Linked DNA regions of Homo sapiens: region 1 is linked to region 2. The links are contacts of gene promoters, found by promoter capture Hi-C in blood cells and fetal thymus (Javierre and others, 2016). All regions are on one chromosome and are shown on one strand. Each heading gives the region's core, a stretch centred on a gene start or on the middle of the fragment in contact. The rest is flanking DNA. Distances are from core to core; before and after follow the strand shown. Region 1 overlaps QSOX2 (quiescin sulfhydryl oxidase 2). Region 2 holds the start of CAMSAP1 (calmodulin regulated spectrin associated protein 1).

Region 1 (3,484 bases), core at 24-2,523, 330 kb before region 2:
CCGAGTCAGGCTGGAGTTTGGTGTCGTTGCTGCTGAGGCTGTGCTGTCTGTCTGTGATCTCTGTTTCATCACGCTGGTCAGCTCTGCCTAAACTCCAAAGGGAGGTGATGTAACCAGGCGTGTCTGACCTCCCTTGCCGTCAGGGCCTGGAATTTCTTTCCTCAGGTTGCCCTGGGGTCTCCTTGGCCAAGAGGGGGTTCAATTCAGTCAGTTAGGGGACTCAGGATTTTATTTTTGGTTTACAGTCCTGAGAGCCAAGCTGTGCCCATGAGGCTTGTGGGAGGTAGAGTCCGGGTAGAAAGGGATGAAAGGCCCTTGGCACTGAGGAGTCCCCGGAGCTGTTCTAAGGCTGGGACTCTCAAAGTAGGGCCACTTAGGGCCTTGTTAGAAATGCCTGCTTCTCCACAGCCCCAGCCCAGACCTGCCAGCTCAGAACTGTCTGCTTGGCGCCTGGCTCCCTGTCTGTCATCCCTGCGTGGAGCTGTCCCACAGGGATAGGGCGCCCATTGCCCGTGGCAGTGCAGGGGTCTGGCTGCATGCAGGCATTCCCGTTGTCAACATTCTCATGTTTTCTTATGTCCCTGTTGACCTGACTCAGATCAGTCACCTGTGGCCCTGATCAATCACCTGTGACTTAGGTCATCCTGCTGATCCCCTGGGGGCACACAGGCCATGGCTTGGGCCCCCACTTCTACCTAGAGTGTCCAGCCGCCTTCTCCCACTGGTCCCCCTGGCCAGCGCCCGCCACGCCCTGCGTTCTTCATGCCTGTGGCTGCTGGAGAGGATGGTTAGGTGTGGGCTCTGCTTCCCAGGAGCCTCCAGCTGGAAGGAGCAGGACAGGCCAGGGCACCTTTGTTTTCCTCAGAAATTTGGATTGAACTTTAGCTCTTGACTGGCTTTTTCAAGGCTGGGAAAATAAATGTTTTTTCTTATAAGAAGGTGGCTTAAGAAACAAAAGTTGTACTGTTTGGTGTGACCAAGTGTCATTCTAGTGTTTGTGGAGATTTGGCTTAAGCCTGTCACTTCTAAGTACTTTGCAGAACAAAACCTTGTTGGGTTCCTGAAGATCTGCCTGGCAGTGATGGTTGCTGGGTTTGTGATGGAAGATGAGGCACCAGGGCCTGGGGCTACACTTTGGCCCGTCTGACCGGTGAGATCTCCGAAATGCCTCTGCAGTCTTGAGTGGACAAGAGGGTGCACCCTAAAGGCAGGGCCTGTGTCCCCGTGCGCCCTCTGTGGCCCTGGTGCCTGTTCCCTCCCATCTCCTTCACTTGGTCAGCCTGAGAAAACAGGGCAGGCCACCACCCACAACAGGCTGAGTCCTCCTAGACCTGCCCTCAGGAGGGCGGGAACGCTTATGTTGTAGATGATAGCACATGAGGTTGCGTGGAACAGGCCGAGTCCTCCCACACCTGTCCTCAGGAGTGCGGGGGCGCTCATGTTGCAGGTGATAGCACGTGAGGTTGCGTGGGATAGTCACGGTCACGCAGCTGAGTGACAGGCCGGGATGGGTGTCCAGGTGTGGGTGACCTGGAGCCATGGCAGTTCATTCCTGTGTCTTTGTAGAGGACAGGTGGGGGTTGGGAGCTGGACACATCCGACATCTCTTGAAGGAAGGGTAGGGCATTCTGTGATTGCTGCCAGCTCCTCTGTCCCACTTGGTCTGGTTTCTTGTCTACTCGACTAGGCTGCAGGCTTCTTGGAGATGAATTAGAACTTGGTGTTCCCCACAGGCTCATTGTCCGTTTACTGGAAAAAGAAACAATAAGGGCCAGAGGGAGGGGGACATGCAGGTGTCAGCGGGCATTTGGCGGGGCTGACGGCCCGTGAGAGCTGCCAGGTGCTCACTGGACTCGGGAGGATGGAGAGGGTGGAAGGAGGAAGAGTTGGGCAGTGGAGGCCTCCTGTCTCCTTACGGGCCCAGAAATGGCTTAATGTAGCCCCGCTGTGGCGACCACATGAGTATTTTACAGAAAGGATGGTGCATCGGAGCAGCCGGGCTCCCCGCTGGCCTCCCCAGTGGCTGTGGTTGGTGCGTCTGAGACTACACCGAGAGACCCAGGCCACTTACTTGTTGTTGAAGTAAGACGGGATGGTTTGCTAAGAGGGCCTTACAGCCACGTCCAGGGAGCCGTCTCCGCTGTGTCATGCCGGTCGTCGTGCCATGGGGTGACCCAGGTCATAAGCACTGCTTGGGCTTCCCTGACAGAGGACGGGCTGAGGGACTGTCATTCCCTACCAACAGATAAACAGCATTGGAATTGCTGTCACCTCGGAGCACCCTTCGAGGCTGAAGAACGTGTAGTTTTGGTTTACCAGAATTGAGTTAAATGCTGGGGATCAAGAGTCCATGGGACCCAGCCCTGCCCTCAGTCCCCAGATGAGGCGACCGTAGCGTGTGCCCGGGTTTTCTCAGACCAGCCCTTGGCAACTTCTAGGTGATTTGTGTTAGGCTCTCCTGGTCGCTAGGTGGGTTTCATTTCTACCCAGGCCTGTTATTCCAAACTTGTGCCTTGAACTTGGAGCTTAGCTAAGAAGACCTTTGCTCAGCCAAGAGGGGGCTCCACCCAGAGAGGGTCTTCTCCAGGGACTGGTATGCGGAGTTCGAGACCCCAGCATGGCCCTGACTCAGGAAGGAGAGGCTGCAGTGGACCTCTGTCCCTTAAACACAGCTCCCTAGTTGCCTTTCAACTTGGGAGATTGTTTTATCTTTACTGTAATCATTTTCTAGAACGATTTGATACTGGACTATACATTAGACTTCTGTAGACTTTTTCATTAGAACGTGACAAGCAGTAAAGAGTTAACCTTGTTAGATTCAGTATTAGAGTTATTTGACAAGCACATTTGAAATAAATGTTAATCTACTATATATAGAAGCTTAATTATTTCCCAAGTATTTTTAAGACTGGAGTCCTAAAATAGCCAGGCTCTTGAGCAGAAGTGAGAATAGGCCTGCGGTCTCATTTCTGCCTCCCTTTGGAACCCCCTGGCTGTGCTGGGTTGGGCACCCCCGCCCCTGCCACACCCTGTGCCTCTCAGCTGGCTCTAACCCCAGAGGCCCAATGAAAGCAGGCCATTTGCATTCTGCTTTAGAGGTTCAGAGCTAGACAGGTGGGCAGAGCAGGAGAAGGGGAGGGTACCCGTTGAATGAGGCCAGTGCCCTGAAGCTAAGCCTTTTACGTGTTTTGTATTTGATTTGATAATATGGACTACCATATCTTTTGTGTTGCCATGAATACCGTCCATCTGCCGAGTCCTTGCCGGTACTCCTGGCGCCTGTTCAGCTGCTGAGGGAGGCCTGTGTAACTGAAATTCTCCCTCATCTGCTCGGCCTTCCCTGAGCACACGGCCTGGCATTCTTTCAAGGACAGACAAAGGCGACGTGGGGTGCCCGCATGCCCCTTCACCAGGACTGACCCTGAGTGGGGTGGTGGTGTTGGGAGCGTAGCTCTACTGAGGCAGGTCGAGGTGCTGCCCCTGC
Region 2 (3,229 bases), core at 52-2,551:
CAGAGGCTCTGTCTGCCGTGCTCCTTGCTCAAGACAGTACTTCTGCAGATATCCTTACCCTCGACGCCCACGTCCCGCCGGTCTTTGCTCAAATAAGTGCCCTCCTCCTATGGCTTTCCTTGACCGCTCTGCCCTGTCCACCTCGTGTTCTTTTCAGACGGCTGACTCAAGAAAAAATAGACAATCTCAACAGACCTATAACAAGTGAAGAGACTCAATTAGTAACCAAAAAACTATGAATCAAATAAGTCATCAAAAAAGCCCAGGCCCAAATGGCTTCAAGGTTGAATTGAAGCCTGCACGTGGGTTGGTATGTGAATGACGGACTGCCTGGGTCCTCTGGGCACCTGGCATTTCATACATGTTCCGCCTCTGGCACGGGGTGTCTCGACCAGGTACAGACAGGCTGGGAGCCCCGCGCCGGGCGCCCGCTCCCTGGAAGCTCGACCTCTCCCTGCCGTCAAGGCGCCGGTGGGCGGCACGTGGGCCGGCTCTCCCGGGGGCAGTTCTCTATTTCGCTGGTGAGGTTCTCAGACCAAATCCTCGGAATGCAAACTCTCACGGCGTTCCCGTAATTCTCAGCCCAGCGCGGGCCCCGACGCAGGCTCCAGGGGAACGAAGTCAGCGTCCCTTCCGGGGGATGCGCCGGCGGGGCCGCACCTGTTTCTGCCTCAGGGGTCCAAACGCCCACCTTCCCTGCACCGGGACGGGGGTCTGGAGACTGGCACGTCCACCTGGTGCCCGTCTGCTGGGCTGTCGCCTGCCGAGGTCGCCGCCGGCCACACCCACGAGGTCCCCAGGGCGCCGGCGGCGAGACCTCGGCCGGCCAGGGGGCCGGGCTGTGGCTGAGGTGGGACGAGCCAGGGCCGGGGAGGAGACACGGCGCTAAAAGAGGGCAGCTGCGGGCTCGGCAGGATCCCCGCCGCCGACCCACTCCACCCACCCCGCGCCGCCCACTCCCCGCTGCCTACGCCGCGCTCCACACCGCGGGCCTTAGAGCCTGAGGAAAGCAACGGGGCAGGCGCGGACCAGGGCGGGTCCTACTGCGCCTGCGGAAGCGGGCGGGGAGGGGCGGGTCGACGCTCACTGCGCCTGCGGAAAGGGGCGGGGCAGGCACAGGCCTGCGGGTGCCACCTACTGCGCCTGCGGAAAGGGGCGGGGCGGGCGCGGGCTGGCGGGCGGTGCCTACTGCGCCTGCGGAAAGGGGCGGGGCAGGCGCGAGAAGGGAGCGGAGCTGGGGGCGGGGTCGAGGGCGGGGTGGCGGGCGGTGCCTACTGCGCCTGTGCGAGGCCCCGGCGGTGAGCGCGCTCCCGCTCCTTGGCCACCGCCTCAGCCGCTGTCGCCGCCGCCGCCGCTCACCCGGGACCGCGCACGCGCTGCCACCGCCCCCGGCCCGCTCCCGCCCCCGCGCCCGCCCCCGCCCCCGGCCCGCGCCCTCCTGCCGCCGCCTCTTTGGGCCGCGGGCTCGGCACCTCCTCCGCTCGGGCTCAGCGCCCGCAGCATGCAGCAGCCGCGGGGGCGGCGACGGCGGCGGCTGTGAGGTGAGGCGGGGGCCGCGCTCGGGCGCCCCTCCCGGCTGGCCGGCTGCGGGGCCGAGTGGTGGCTCGGGGCGCACCGGGCCCGGCGCGGCGAGGGGCGGCGGCGCCTTTGTTGCGGCCGGGCCGCCGCCTCAGCCCTTTGTCTGCAGATGGTGGACGCGAGCGGCCGCGCCGCCGCCGAGGGCTGGAGGAAGATGGAGGCCCCGCCGGACGGCGCCGCCGACCTCGTGCCCCTGGACCGCTACGACGCGGCGCGCGCCAAGATCGCCGCCAACCTGCAGTGGATCTGCGCCAAGGCCTACGGCCGAGGTGGGCCGGGTGAGGGGCGCGGGGCGGGGGCCAGGGGCGCGGGCCGGGGCCGGGGGACGCGGCCGGGGTCCGGCCGGGTCGGGGTCCGCGCGCCGCGCCTTTGTGCCGCGTCCGCACAGGGTCGGGGCTGGGCCGGCCGCCTCCGAGGTCCTGGCGGCGCCCGGGCAACGCGGAGCGTGGGGACGCGGTCACCTGGCGAGTGGGCGTCCCTGCGGCGGAGGGCGGCGTGGGTCGGGGCTTCCGCTCCTATTTCGGGAGTGCCCCCAGCCTCCCGTTGGCGGCGGCGGCGGCGGGAAGGAGCTGCCCGGTTCTGGGCGCAGGGAGGGACCATGGGGACGCGGGGCCGCCGTCTGAGGCGCCGCTTCCCGGCGCGCCGGGCATCGTCCAGTGCTGGACCTGTGATTCCGAGCCTTGCACTTGTTATGAATTTTGATGCTTACAAGCTGTCAGCTGTTGAATTCCCCAACTAGAAATTGCGTATTCCGCGCATTGTGCTTAATCATAATGATCCCCTTTGGTTAATTCCTGTTTGGAAGAACTAGGTAACCTTGTTACTCAGTCCAGTTTGTTAGGCCCTAATGTGCTTAGTGGATTAAGACGCTTCTGTTTCGTGCCCTGGGAACAGGACAGACCTAGTGATTCTCGTCAGTGGCTGACTTCTTTATTAATTTCAGGTGCTTTGTTTCAGGTACAATTAAAGGTTAATATTTCTGCAATCCTCTTTTCATTTGAAGCATTCTTAAAATATTTGCCTTTATTCTGGTGAAAAATTACCCTTTTTAGAGTAAGACTAAAGGAGACAGCCCTTCCAGAGAAGAGTTCAGTTGACCAGTTTGGAAAACGCTGAGTAGGCGTTGCCCTGTTTGACAGTGGCCTGTGCCCCAGCTAGACTCGAGTTAGTCATAAGGACAAACGCGTTTTGTAAGTTTTAGGGATTAAATAACTCGCCTTATTTCAAACTGGTTTTTGTACTGTGTAAGTAGTAATTGGGAAAGAGTTTTTCCTTTGACAGTTTTCAGTTTTACAGTTCTTGTTTACTGGCTCAGTGGAACCTTAGTTTCTGTGTTGTAATGAGGAAGAAACACTGCTACATCCAAGACTTCACATGAGTTTTTGAGAACGGAATTGGTAAGATGTAGGTATGAAACTTGAGTCAGGTGCAAAGAACAGCCCGAGAGCGGACGCCTGGGTATCTTGCAGTCACTGCCGGCTGCGTGGGCTCACCTGCCTCACACCTTGTGTTAGTCACTGTTTTGCTTTTCTTTGTATTTTGCCGCATGTGCTTACACCACGAACTAGTTTTTACACCTTTGCCAATGATGTCTCTTTCTGAGACTGGCTTTTGTTATTCCCTTATCCCACGTTACGTTCTTAGGTTCTTC

The links. The method cuts DNA at HindIII sites, captures the fragments that hold promoters and counts their contacts. A CHiCAGO score of 5 or more calls a contact.
Region 1: a contact is called between a fragment that was not itself captured here and the fragment with the promoter of CAMSAP1 in region 2, in 8 of 17 cell types (neutrophils, naive CD4 T cells, non-activated CD4 T cells and 5 more). The highest score is 9.2, in neutrophils.

The regions. Positions count from the first base shown.
Region 1 is chr9:136,239,641-136,243,124 of GRCh38, reverse strand. All of the region lies in intron 1 of QSOX2 (quiescin sulfhydryl oxidase 2), which reads left to right. Among named protein-coding and RNA genes, the nearest start is that of QSOX2, 4.4 kb to the left of the region's middle. RefSeq lists a silencer at 3,039-3,168 and an enhancer at 3,384-3,484. The HindIII fragment of the contact is 3,219 bases long and covers 1-2,882 here.
Region 2 is chr9:135,905,618-135,908,846 of GRCh38, reverse strand. CAMSAP1 (calmodulin regulated spectrin associated protein 1) reads left to right here and starts at 1,301. Exons shown (of 17, transcript NM_015447.4): 1 at 1,301-1,847. The coding sequence starts at 1,688. CAMSAP1-DT (CAMSAP1 divergent transcript) reads right to left here and starts at 1,014. Exons shown (of 2, transcript XR_007061860.1): 1 at 1-1,014. RefSeq lists silencers at 733-1,412, 1,453-1,562, 1,643-1,712, 2,113-2,162 and an enhancer at 2,809-3,229. The HindIII fragment of the contact is 15,122 bases long and covers 1-3,229 here.